2 separate regions of the Homo sapiens genome follow, and region 1 is linked to region 2. Evidence: promoter capture Hi-C in human tissues and cell types (Jung and others, 2019). All regions are on one chromosome and are shown on one strand. Each heading gives the region's core, a stretch centred on a gene start or on the middle of the fragment in contact. The rest is flanking DNA. Distances are from core to core; before and after follow the strand shown.

Region 1 (6,128 bases), core at 1,611-4,110, 130 kb before region 2:
TATTGCCATCATACTGCTGTGTTACATACAACGATAAGCTGTATAATAAGATGGTTCATGCTCAACCATCCAACGGCTGGGGGAAGTAAGATAGCCTTGCTGTTTGCTCACATGACTGGGGTTTGACTTACTGTTGACTGGGGTAAAAGTGGGAATTGGCTTTGCTCCATCAATCTCTCACTCTAAAATTAGGCTAGATCTACTTACTGTGTTCTCATGAAGATGGCAAGAGTATGAGAGCAAACTAGATTCTTGCAAGAACTTTCATGCTCAGAACCAGAACATCATCAATTCTGCCTTTTGGCTGGTAACACCATGTTATATGACTGTGCCAGGAATCAGAGTGAAAGAACATTTCAAAGTTATAACGCAAAGAGAGTAGATGAGAGGGAAAAGATAAAGCTTTGTATTCTACCAGAGAACCCACTGTCTAGCCTTTGTTTATTTAAAGCTAACCTCCTTTACTCTAAGCAGTAGTTGACAACTTCTCTGCAAGTTGTGGTGCTCGAATCTACATTCCCAGTCTATAGGAATGCCAGACACAATAATGAACAAATTATGAAGTTAGAATTTCAGATAAGTAATAGAAACATTTTTGGTATGTCTAAAATATTATATAGAGCGTGCTTATGCTAAACAAAATATTATTTATTCAGAACTCAAGTTTAACTGGGCACCCTGTATTTTTATTTGCCATATATGGCATCTCTCCCAAACCGGTCTTTCTTCTGATATTTATCTACCAGAAGAATGTTTCCAAATGCATGTCTCCATAGACAGCTGAGCTTAAACTTATTCTAACCAATAGATTCTTCTTCCCACACATGCACCCTTTTTGCTTCTCTACAAACCCCTTTCCAGCATTTTGATCCACCAAGTGCTGCAAAATTAAACTTTTGTGAAAATAATTATCCATTTATGTCCCTCTCCTCACTTATTGGCTACTAATTCCCCTTAACCTTGACATTTATATTTTTCTCAAAGATGGCACACTGTCTGCATCACCAATTCTTCTTTCTTATTTTATGTTTTTTCATCTCTTATCACAGTAGTCTCTACTAAGGATTTTCCTAACTCAAATTTTATTTTGCTTACATCTTAAGGTGCCATTCTTACTAGTTAGAAACTCAAAGTTCAAGTCAAACTGCTTGGATTCCAATACTAACTTGACTGAGGATTAATTCTCTGAACTTGGGAAATTTATTTTATCTCATTAAATCTCATTTTTGTTATCCGCAAGTTGAAAATAATCTCATTGTTTTCCCTGTAATGTGGTGAGGACTAAACGATCTATTATTTGCAAAGTACAAAAGAATGGCCAGGCAGAATAAATGGTAGACAATATCCATAATAATAATGATTATTATTACTATAATGCACTTATTCTTTTATAATACCTGGTGTCTCTATTTCATCCCATCATAATACCTTTTCATCTTGCAAGTCTTAATGTGCAAAAACTACTCTGACATCATAGTTCATGAAAAATGAACAAACACCCTATCCTCAACTGTATTCTTTTCACGTTTTCTTTTCTCACAACCACTTTTATCATATAATGTGATGTTTGCTTATCTTTCTCTCCTGCTCAATAATGAGCTTCTTCTTTGCAATCTAGATTTACTCAACTTTAATGCATTTGAATTGAAAATCATTACAGATTCATAAAGCTAAATGTATTACTTTATTATATCAGTCATGGTTACAATGCAAGATGGCTATTAAGCTTGATATGTTCCCATTTTAAATTGTATGCCTTATATGCTCTATTTTCATGTTAAAATAATAAGGGAAATAGTTTGCTCAAAAGATTTAAACAGCTCATATGAAACACCTGGATTACTTCCTAGGCAAAGAGTAAATGGAAAATATAAGTACAGTAATTTATTAGAACTTTTATGTCAACAGTCTGTACTGTATGAAGAGACTGAAACACAAGCCCTGTCTACCAGGCAGACTATTTAATAAGCATGCAAAAACTTTACTGAGACTATGGGTAGTTTGACGAACTGTGGGAAATCTGGGAGACTGGGTTGAGAAGTGGGATGCGACCCAGGGTTGTCAATATAGCTAATATAGCACCCAAATCAATGACACAGCAATAGTCTTGTTAGGATATTATTTTTGTCATTACTGCCATTTTTCTTTTTAGCCACCACTAGAGTGGGGCACTGCTACTACTGACATTCCTCTTGCCATTTTTTTCTGCTTCTGGATACCTCTGCTCTAGATACATTCTGAATACCGTTTTTTGTCTTTGTGTCACTTTGCTAAAAATCCAAGACCAGTTGAGACAGTTGATTAGCCAAGCTTAATTCAAATGCCTAAGACATCGCTACTGGGAGCAATGAAAGGAATTATCTAGTCCTCTTTAAGGTCTGCATTGGGAGCCACAGTACTGTCTCCTCCTAAACAGAAACAAGTCTTAGATACTGAGTAGCCTCACAAAAACAAGTCATAAATGTCAATGACACAGAGCCCAAGTTAGAGCAAATGTCTATATTTTCTTCCATACCAGATTCAGCCCAGAATATAAATAAGCACACTCTTAGTTAAGTAACAAGAGTGCTACTGAAATCTAATTTATTTTTTAACTATACCTCCCAAACAATTTATCCAGTTTTCTAAAGTGACTAAAATTCTCTGAATTAAACCTTTGCCTAGCACATAGGGTTAAGACTTGTGGTCATGGTGAGAATTGTAAATTCATTTCCTGAGGGTTTGGGAAAAGAACCATCCTGTACATTATTACCATTTACTTCTGGAATACTTTCCACCCACATATTGGGAGGGAAAAGGGAGAGGAAAAGGAGAAAGCAGAGGAACACACATGGAACCAGAGATGCAGAGTCAAGGGAAGAAACTCACATGGATGGAGTGACTCAGTAATAAAACCTAGCCCCCAAGAGAGGCCACGTAGTGACTGACCTCTTCAGGATGGATGTGGCAGGGGCAAAGGGTGGAGATCAAAGGGACATGGATAAGAAGTCAACAAAGATAAACCATGTCTACAAAAATTATGCCCCAAGCCTTTAGGTGATCTAAGTGTGTTGTAGAAAACACCATCAAGAGGTGTCTGCTTTTTCCCCTTCTGGCGAGCTCTATAAATCAGCAATTCAGTGAAGTGGAAAAGCATAGCCTCTGAAATCAGCTTACCTAAATTCAGATTCAACACACACACTTACTTAATAGCCATGATGACGTCGGGCATTCCATTACTTCAGCTCTCTAGGCCATCTATAAAATGAGGGTAATAACAATACTTACCTCATAGGGGATCGTGTTAAGTGAATCAAAACATCTAAAGTTCCTGGCGTATAATAAGTATTCATAAACACTTACTATTCTTAAGATTATTATTGCCAGGTTAAGAGATGTGTCTATCCCAGGGACTCAGCTTAAGTGGTTAACCCTTTAACAGAAGTTGGTTTTGAATAATGGTGGACAGACCATGATGTTTACATAAATATCTTCTTACAGAGAATGTCAGAAGCCATCATGTATAATTAGTGAAGCAAAACAATCTTTTGAAATACAGTTGAGGGATTACCTCATGTCATGGAGTAAATTTATGGGGATCTCAGTTGGGGTCAGATAAAAGCCAAGGCTTTGAGAATGGAAACATTACCTCTTACAGGCACAAGTTGATTAAAGGAATACTAAATTCAAACATGTTAATATTCAAGAGGCCCTCCCTTCCTGGAATCAAGGGAATATTAAAGGGTTCGAGGGGCTCATGTGCTATTTGAGATGTAAAGCCTGTAGGCTTTACCAGCCCCACTTCTAAGGGTTTACAATTTTATTGTACAGAGAACAGAGAGTGACATTTGAACTCAAGTCATGTGGCTTTTTCTACCCAGCTGAATTCATTTCCCTAATAGCTGCAGTCACTGACAATCTAGGCTTCCACAAAAGCTTTGGGGTGAGTACTGTGACTTCAATTGTTTAAATCACCATTCTCATTTTGGCTGTAGAGATAAAGACCTTGGCAAACAGGATAAAAATAAAATTCTGGCCTCTCTGTGGTCATGTAAGGTGCATATTCCCTGTAACCAGATCAACATCCATTAAGAAGATACTAACATTCCGCATTCATTGAATTAGAACCATCTTTGTGCCATCCCTGGGACCTGTGTTGATCGTTTGTGAGCCAGGATATTTAAAGTATGACATTTTTTTCCTCAAACTATTTTGGAATATGACTAGTTTGGTATTTAATTGTTGTAGAATAAATCTCAACTTGGATACCTTTCACATCATATTGAGTCTTCCAGGCTGCTGAATTTCGACCTCAGAGATACCACGTGAAAGGAGGTTTCCATGGGAAGGAAGAAATAAACTCACAAGGTGCTTTCAATGAGTGAGATGTGATGTGACGGAGTTATTGAAAGGACATTATTCTTCTGATGGATTTTTTTCATTTGAGGAGCATATCATAGTCAGGTTCTTTATGGGAGTATTTTGTTGGTATGGACAGTTTTTTTTTTCTTATTCTTAGTGGTAGAAAATATTAAAAGACCATAATATTTAAAACAAGTAAAGCAAATGTGTATCTAATACTCAGGAGCAGCATGGAATGCTATTTTAAAACTAAGTCTGTATCATTGAAAATAAATTAATCCAAGCAAATGATCAAACAAATTGATTTTATACGATGTAGAGAAATACTCATTTATTTATTAATTTTCTTTAATACTTTTCTTGCTTTATAAAAGGTTCAGTCTTTGGCAAAAAAAAATCCATATTAATGACAAAAGACTTGAAAGAAATGGCAACCTAATCTCAATAAAGATTTAAGCGATGAACATCAAGATTATGGCATCATGTACAACTTATTTGACCCTTTTGATTGTACTAATCCTCCAAATTAGAAAGTCAGTTTTACCTGCAGCTCACTTAGCATGGTGATTGTGTTTGTGCACTAACTTTTTAACATTTACTTGACCTTCACTCCAGTATTCAATTTGTAACTTTCATAATGACCATGTGAGGCATTATTTTTCCCTCTGTATTGTTTCCTTTGAATCTATTTATTATTGTTTCAATAGGCAATAATTTGTGAGAATCATGCTTCTTTGGTGTTGATTGGGCCTTCTAAATGAAGAATGATTTCTTGCTTTTAGTAATAATATATGCTGTCCCCATAGTCACCTGATTATAATGGCTGGGTATCTTTCAAAGTGAATTTAAATGATGTAGCTGATACAATAATCTTCTAACAAAAACCGATCTCATTTTCCTTTTGGAAACACCAGTCAATAATCTATGGTGACTTTATAAGTGACTTTATCAGTGGATGATTTTTTTCAACTTTTACTCCAAAGAGTGGTATAGTACATCGTAATCATTTACAGGTGATGCTCGTGGCAGGTATAAGTTTCTATAGGTCATCAAGCTTGCTCTCCCCATCTGTAAAATATAAGTGTTACACAAGTTTTACACCCAAGGTTACATTCTATGATCTTATTTCTGCCATTACTATTGAGCAGAACTTCTTTTTGAACATTCAAATTTCACTTAGAAAATAAAGCCAAATACCTTTTAAAAATGTAAGTCCTCTTGTTTTAGGAAAAAGGGCTAAGCATACTTATTACGTACTTATTATATTCTTATTTATAATTCTTATTGTTATATAATGTATGTGGTTTTTTTGCATTTTTAATTTTGTCTTAAGAGAATTGTGTATAATGCTGCTTGCCTGTCTTATTATGCATCTGGTTATCTAATAGGTAGCTTATGAGATCTGTTAAAAAGTGCTACACGTTTCAAGTCAAATATATGTCGCCAGGTTTACATAAGGTACAAAACCATAAAAATAACTGCTCTTCAGCGTTCACTGAAGAATCTAGTAGGTATTTAAATTTATGACTTGAAATAACTTGGGTTAACTGATTTTTATTTTTAAGACTTTTCTTCCTTTCATGAATTGATATTTACTGTAAAACAAGTGAACATATGCTTTATGATGAACTTGAATTATGATGCTTAGTAATTAGTTATTCTAGTGGGCCTCAAATCTAATCAACCGGGACAAATTTATTTGAATGTCGTAAAAAGTCCACCATTTAAACATGCAATTCGACACTGAATATTCCATTTGTATTATATTTATATGTATCTGAAAACAC
Region 2 (6,072 bases), core at 1-2,500:
GATCTTTAAACATACAAGTGTGGTTATTCAAAATTATAAATGACTTGCGTGTGTTACAAAGGTATTGTATACAAGATGAGTGTGCAGCCTATAAAGCTGAAAGTATTCAGATGTGCCCTTTTAAATTTATAATATCCTCAGTCTTTCAAGGAAGTGTTTGCATAAGAATTACTGAGAATTGCTGAATGTTCTTGGGCTTCTTCAGACCTTAGAAAGGGAGTCTAGTTAGTGCACTAAGACTATACTTCTATTTTATTGTCATTAGCTGAGCCAAATATATTATAGAATATGTTATAGAAATTGTGCTGGTTGGCTCTGTGCCATGAGTATGAAACTATGCTAAGAACGGTGTCCTAATGCGATAAACATAGGAACTGATCATCTGTCTGCAGTCAATAAAAAAAGCACAGAATAAAGATGAAAAATATCTGAAGAAGGTTCATTATAAAGGAAAATAATCAACCTTTGAGAAGCACAAACACAAGTAAACACACCACTTTGTCAAGTATAGAAAAAAGGAATTAAATCCATTAGTAATTCAGAAAAGGAAGAAATAACTCCTAAATGGGAAGATTGGGGAAGACTTCAGGAAAAGGACGCATTTAAACTTGGCTTTCAAGGAGATTAGGGAAACGAAATGTTAGGCAAAAGACAAGTATTTATTGGGCAATGGCCACACTCAGTACTTTGCATGAACACTGAGAAGGAATGTGATCACAAAGTCCTCTCACATTCTGGTCCACTGGAGAGAACAATATCTGAGTGGAATGAGATTGGGCTCAACCTGGATCCAATTCTAACTTTAAATGTCTTGAACATCAAATTACCACATTCTGCTACATTGGCAGCTCTCAAAACCAGTGCTAAATGTTAATCAGTATTCAGTTGGCCACTGCCTCATGCATTTCTCATTGTCCACTTACCAATGTGCAGAGTCATGGTGGCAAAAAAAAAAAAAAATGTTAGCTTGGTTGGACAGGTTTAGACTCTTATTTGACCAACCCCACCTTGAATGAGTCATCTTTGGAGCTAACATAAAAGCCATTTTGAAGATTCAAAATGGACTTACATCTTTGTTAATAAGACATCATCTGCATATATAACCAAAGTGGTAATGAGATGTTATCCTTCAAATTAGTTTAAGCAATGAGTTGCAAAGAAGTCTTGAGAAGCCAACACCCAGGTTTCTGAGTATATAATCGCCGCACCAAAGAATTTAATTTTCAAACTCAGCATGTTGAGTCCTTATGACCATCTTTAAGGATTTTTAGCAATATGCCTCATAGCCACTGCCATTCACTCAGGAGCTTCCACAATGCCCCACCACTCTCTGCCATCACACATGGCACTAATCCTATAACCTTTGAAGACAGATTGTGTTTGCCCAGCAGCTTCCATAGCAGAACCTGTTTCCTGGACAACTTTCAAGAAACCTGCAATGAAACCACCAGCTGCCAAATGACCAATTGTGAACAGGACTTATTCACAGACGATAGCTGTGTGCAAAGTAACTGCTTCCCCGGAGTTGTCCAAACTACTTACTCCAATTCCAGGCCCTGCGAAAGGACAGCGTGCCAATCAGAAAGTTCTTCAGCAGGGCTGGCTTGTGTTTCTCAGCCTTGCCAATCAGAAAGCACTCAGCAGATGGGTTTTGTAGCCCAGAGCTGCCAACCTGCAAGCCTCAAGGGAAACAGTTGCCCACCCAAGACTTCTAAGTCTAAAAATTTCGAAACTCTGGAACGTGCATCTAGCCAATGTCAGTGTCAGTCTCAGAACCCTGAATCCAGTTCCTGTAGACCTCTGGTCAATGTTGCACCTGAGCCACAACTCCTGGAATCTTCTCCAGGAGTTGAACCAACTTGCTGTGTTACTGGTGGTTCTCAATTGCCTAGTAAGTGAAGATCTGTAGGGGAGATGGCTTATATTCTCATTTGGATGAATTTATTTTTGAGATACTTAGATATTTTGTATTTCTTTAAATAAAAAATGTTGTGTGTGTTTGTTAGTAAATGAACATGTCTTATTTTACTACTGTCTCCAAAGACAAGATTTTTTTTCTTGTTTTTCTTTTGGGTATGTCTAGTGGTAATCTGGGGTTGGAAAGCATGCTAGCTATTTTAGAGCAGTAGGATACGATTTGTTATTAAGCAATAAGAGCTGTAGCCAGGAAATAACATGAATACTTAAAGGAAACATCACACTTTAACTGCAAGTTGTTTTCTTTGGAAATACTTAGCATTGGATCTGGTTTATTAAGTAATGTGCTACTAGTCTCAGAAATTCATAAAATATTGGAACCAAACCTAAAAGCCTACCTAGTCCTGTGAATTACGATAGGTTCAACTCTATCAGAGGTTGCCCAAGTAGTTAATAACATCAGAACCACAACTAAAATCCAGGCCTACTCACTGGCCATCTGTTATTTTAGCCATTGAATCACAACATTCTCAAATTAACTAGAAGATTAAGTCTATTGTTCGAATAGAGCAAGGTAATTTTGAATTTCACCTCCATGGGCTTTATAACCACGTAGCAACCAGAAGCCTTTAAATAGAATGAATTGAAGTTTAGAATCTTCACTTCATTTCGTTCCCGTTGTTTTTTTGGTTGTTTGTTTTTTTCCTGTTTTCATTATTTCTTAAGTATTTTTTGAGTTTGGAAAATATTCTTTGTATTAAATAAATTTGCTTTCTTTGGAAGCAAAATTTGGACTTGTCACACTATTATTTTTATTCAATCCTTTTGCAGGTGTTATGTTACAGGCTTTTTGTTTCTTCGTTTGTTACCTAATGAAAATAGTATAAATATTTAGAAGAAAAGAGAACATATCCTCTTGTTATAATTTTTATAGTGTGAACCAGAAAAGAATAACTCATGGTGGTAGTCAACAGAAGATGGAAAATATACTCATATGAACATCATAAGACCATAGAGTCAGATGTTTGAAATTGATTAATTTTATTTAGGTAGCTTAGCTATTCTGAAACTTTTGGTGTGTTCTTAAATTGATCTTTCAATTTTTTTTTTTTTTTTTGAGATGGAGTCTCGCTATGTCACCCAGGCTGGAGTGCAGTGGCGCAATCTCGGCTCACTGCAAGCTCTGCTTCCTGGGTTCACGCCATTCTCCTGCCTCAGACTCCCGAGTAGCTGGGACTACAGGTGCCTGCCACCATGCCCGGCTAATTTTTTGTATTTGTAGTAGAAACGGGTTTCACCACATTAGCCAGGATGGTCTCAATCTCCTGACCTCGTGATCCGCCTGCCTCGGCCTCCCAAAGTGCTGGGATTACAGGCGTGAGCCACCATGCCTGGCCTTGGATCTCACATTTTTTCAGGGCAAAATAAGGTAGTGGTTGAGAGCATGAACTCTGAATATGGATTTCCTTGAGCTGGAATCTTAGCTTTGCTTAGTGATGGCTGTTTAAGTTCCAACTGTGTGACTGTGTGCAAGTTATTTAACCACCTCAGTTTCTTCAACTTCAAAAGTGAAGGATAATAATAGGGCTACTGTGAGCCTTAATAAGTTAATAAATTGAAAGTGTAAGGCTTAAAAAATTACCATGTATATAGCATATTTAGCAACTCAGCTAGCTCAGAGACTTGGTATGGGGGAGGTAGTGGGGATTTGTAAATAAACCCAGAAATCCATGAGAGATTAGGAAAGCTAGTCATCCAACAAAAGAGAGATTAGCTGTTTTGTATTTTGGAAGATGCAGGCAGCATCATCTACTAAGGGAGAAAATTAAGAAACTTAAACGCTGTCTAGTTGAAGTAAATTGGCAAGTATCTCTGAATCTATGGCAAACCTAATGCTACTGATAATTTACCAGTTAGTTCTGAGGGTGGGTGCCATGGTAATTCTATGTATCAACATGATTGAGCCAAGGGCTGCCCAGATTAAGCATTATTTCTGAGTGTGTCTGTGAGAGTGTTCAAGGGAGATAAGCATTTAAATCAGTGTGCTCAGTAGATGGCCCTCTCCAATGTGGATGGGAATCGTTCAGTCCATTGAGGGCCTAAATAAAACAAATGGTCGGGGAAGGAGAAATGTGCCCGTTTATGTTTCCTGCAAGCCTACTTGAGCAGAGACATTGGGTTTCTCCTGCCCTTGGACTGGATTTATACCATTGGCTCCCCTGGTTCTCAGATCTTCACATTTGGACTGGAATTATATCACTGGTTTCCTTGAGTTTCCAGGTTGCAGGTGACACATCATGAGATTTCTTAGCCTCCATAATTGTGTGAGCCAATCCTTCGTGATAAATCACTCACTCTCTCTCTCTCTTCATACACACACACACACACACACACACACACACACACACACATGCATATATATACACACACATATATACAGTGAGATAAATATATATTATATATAGTCTGTCTATCTATCTATCTATCTATCTATCTATCTATCTATCTATCATCTATCATCTATCATCTATCTATCTATTTTATTGGTTCTGTTTCTCTATGTAGCCCTGAATAATACAGTGGGATAGACACAGGCCATCTCAAAGAGGAAGACTTAAGCCTAAAATCTGTAAACCACCACATACACAGGTGCTCTGTAGAGGGATAGGATTGACGGAAGTCTGAGAGAGGCCAAACACTATTCAATACCATCAATAGTACTCAGAGCCTTTGGCAGCCTCAATAGCAGAACATCCCTGAAGCAAACAACATTGACATAAAGCTTCTGTCCACAGCACTGATGGCAGTAACACAGCATTGGCAACAGTAAAGACAGAATTTATCTCGTGGCAGCTTCTCAGCATTCTAGTCACAGCCAATCATGTGAACATAGATCAAGTTCATTCACAATAAGGATTTTTACTATTGCAATGCCAACTGGGTTGCCCAGAAAAAGCTCAATTCATTTGGACCACTGTTTCTAAAGACAAGAGGGAAAACCTACCCATTCCATGTGCCTTCCAAGTATATATTATTTTACTGGGTGTAGCTTGCTGAGAAAACAGGACTTTGGCGAAAACGGGCTATGTGTGGTATGTGTTGTGGAGCAGGGGAATGCCAGGAAAGAGGGACGTGATGTTAAGTTTCACTTTCCCATCTACTCTGTTCATCATTCTAGACATTAGCTTTCCAGGCTGAGCTTGACCACTGCTAGAAAGAGAAGCTAGCTGAAGAAGGAGCCAGTATTTAATCTAACTCAACATGGAGCATATTAGAGCTCCTCATAGAAAGAAATTATGTGGACTCAGGTACAAAAAGACTTTTGATATTGGAATATGGAATGCCATAATTATATAAACCTTGGTAGAAAATTTAGTGTAAGGAAAAGGACATGAATCTTATAGTATGACTAGATCTTACTCAATTCCAAATTCTGTGTATTAAAAGCTATGTGCTCTGGGATGAATTAACATTCTTTTTTTCTTTTTCTTTTTTTTTTTTTTTTTTGTCAGTGTCTCACTTTGCTGCCCAGGCTGGAGGGCAGTAGTGCAATGTTAGCTCCCTGCAAACTCTGTCTCCCGGGTTCAAGCGATTCTCATGCCTCAGCCTCCCAAGTAGCTGGAATTACAGGTGCATGCCACAACACCTGGCTAATATTTGTACTTCTTGTAGAGATGGGGTTTCATCATGCTGGGCAGGCTGGTCTCAAACTCCTGACATCAAGTGATCCACCTGCCTCAGCCTTCAAAAATGCTGGGATTACAGGCGTGAGCCACTGCACCTGGCCCAAATTAACATTTCTGAGACTTGGTTCCATTATTGTAAAATGGAGATAATAATATTAAAGTCATTGGATGATTATGACAACTAAATGGCATGATTCCAATTAAATGCTTAGTGGACTGTTTGGCACATAATAAGAGCACAATATATGCTAGGTATCATTTGATACTTCGTCTGATATTTTTCTCTTGGGCCTCAATTTCAGTTTGTTTTTATGATTGTCTATAATGCATTTGAATCCAGGGCAGAGACCAAGAAAATTATTTCATTCCATGTGAAAAGAATGTAAGCAGTATGGGACATAACCAGGATATTCTATGCAGGACTCATTTTTAAGCAATGTCAAAACATACCGGTGGGTATATGCATGCT

The links. Contacts are between HindIII fragments. The study calls those that stand out against the background at their distance.
Region 1: a fragment that was not itself captured here is called in contact with the fragment with the promoter of KRTAP27-1 in region 2 in 5 of the 25 tissues and cell types used here (H1 embryonic stem cells, liver, mesendoderm cells and 2 more).

Annotation. Positions count from the first base shown.
Region 1 is chr21:30,466,516-30,472,643 of GRCh38, reverse strand. The region is part of intron 3 of LOC105372772 (a long non-coding RNA gene); the gene reads left to right. Among named protein-coding and RNA genes, the nearest start is that of KRTAP19-1, 11 kb to the left of the region's middle. The HindIII fragment of the contact is 3,591 bases long and covers 1,065-4,655 here.
Region 2 is chr21:30,332,872-30,338,943 of GRCh38, reverse strand. KRTAP27-1 (keratin associated protein 27-1) reads left to right here and starts at 1,250. Exons shown (of 1, transcript NM_001077711.1): 1 at 1,250-1,931. The coding sequence starts at 1,276. The coding sequence ends at 1,899. The HindIII fragment of the contact is 14,979 bases long and covers 1-6,072 here.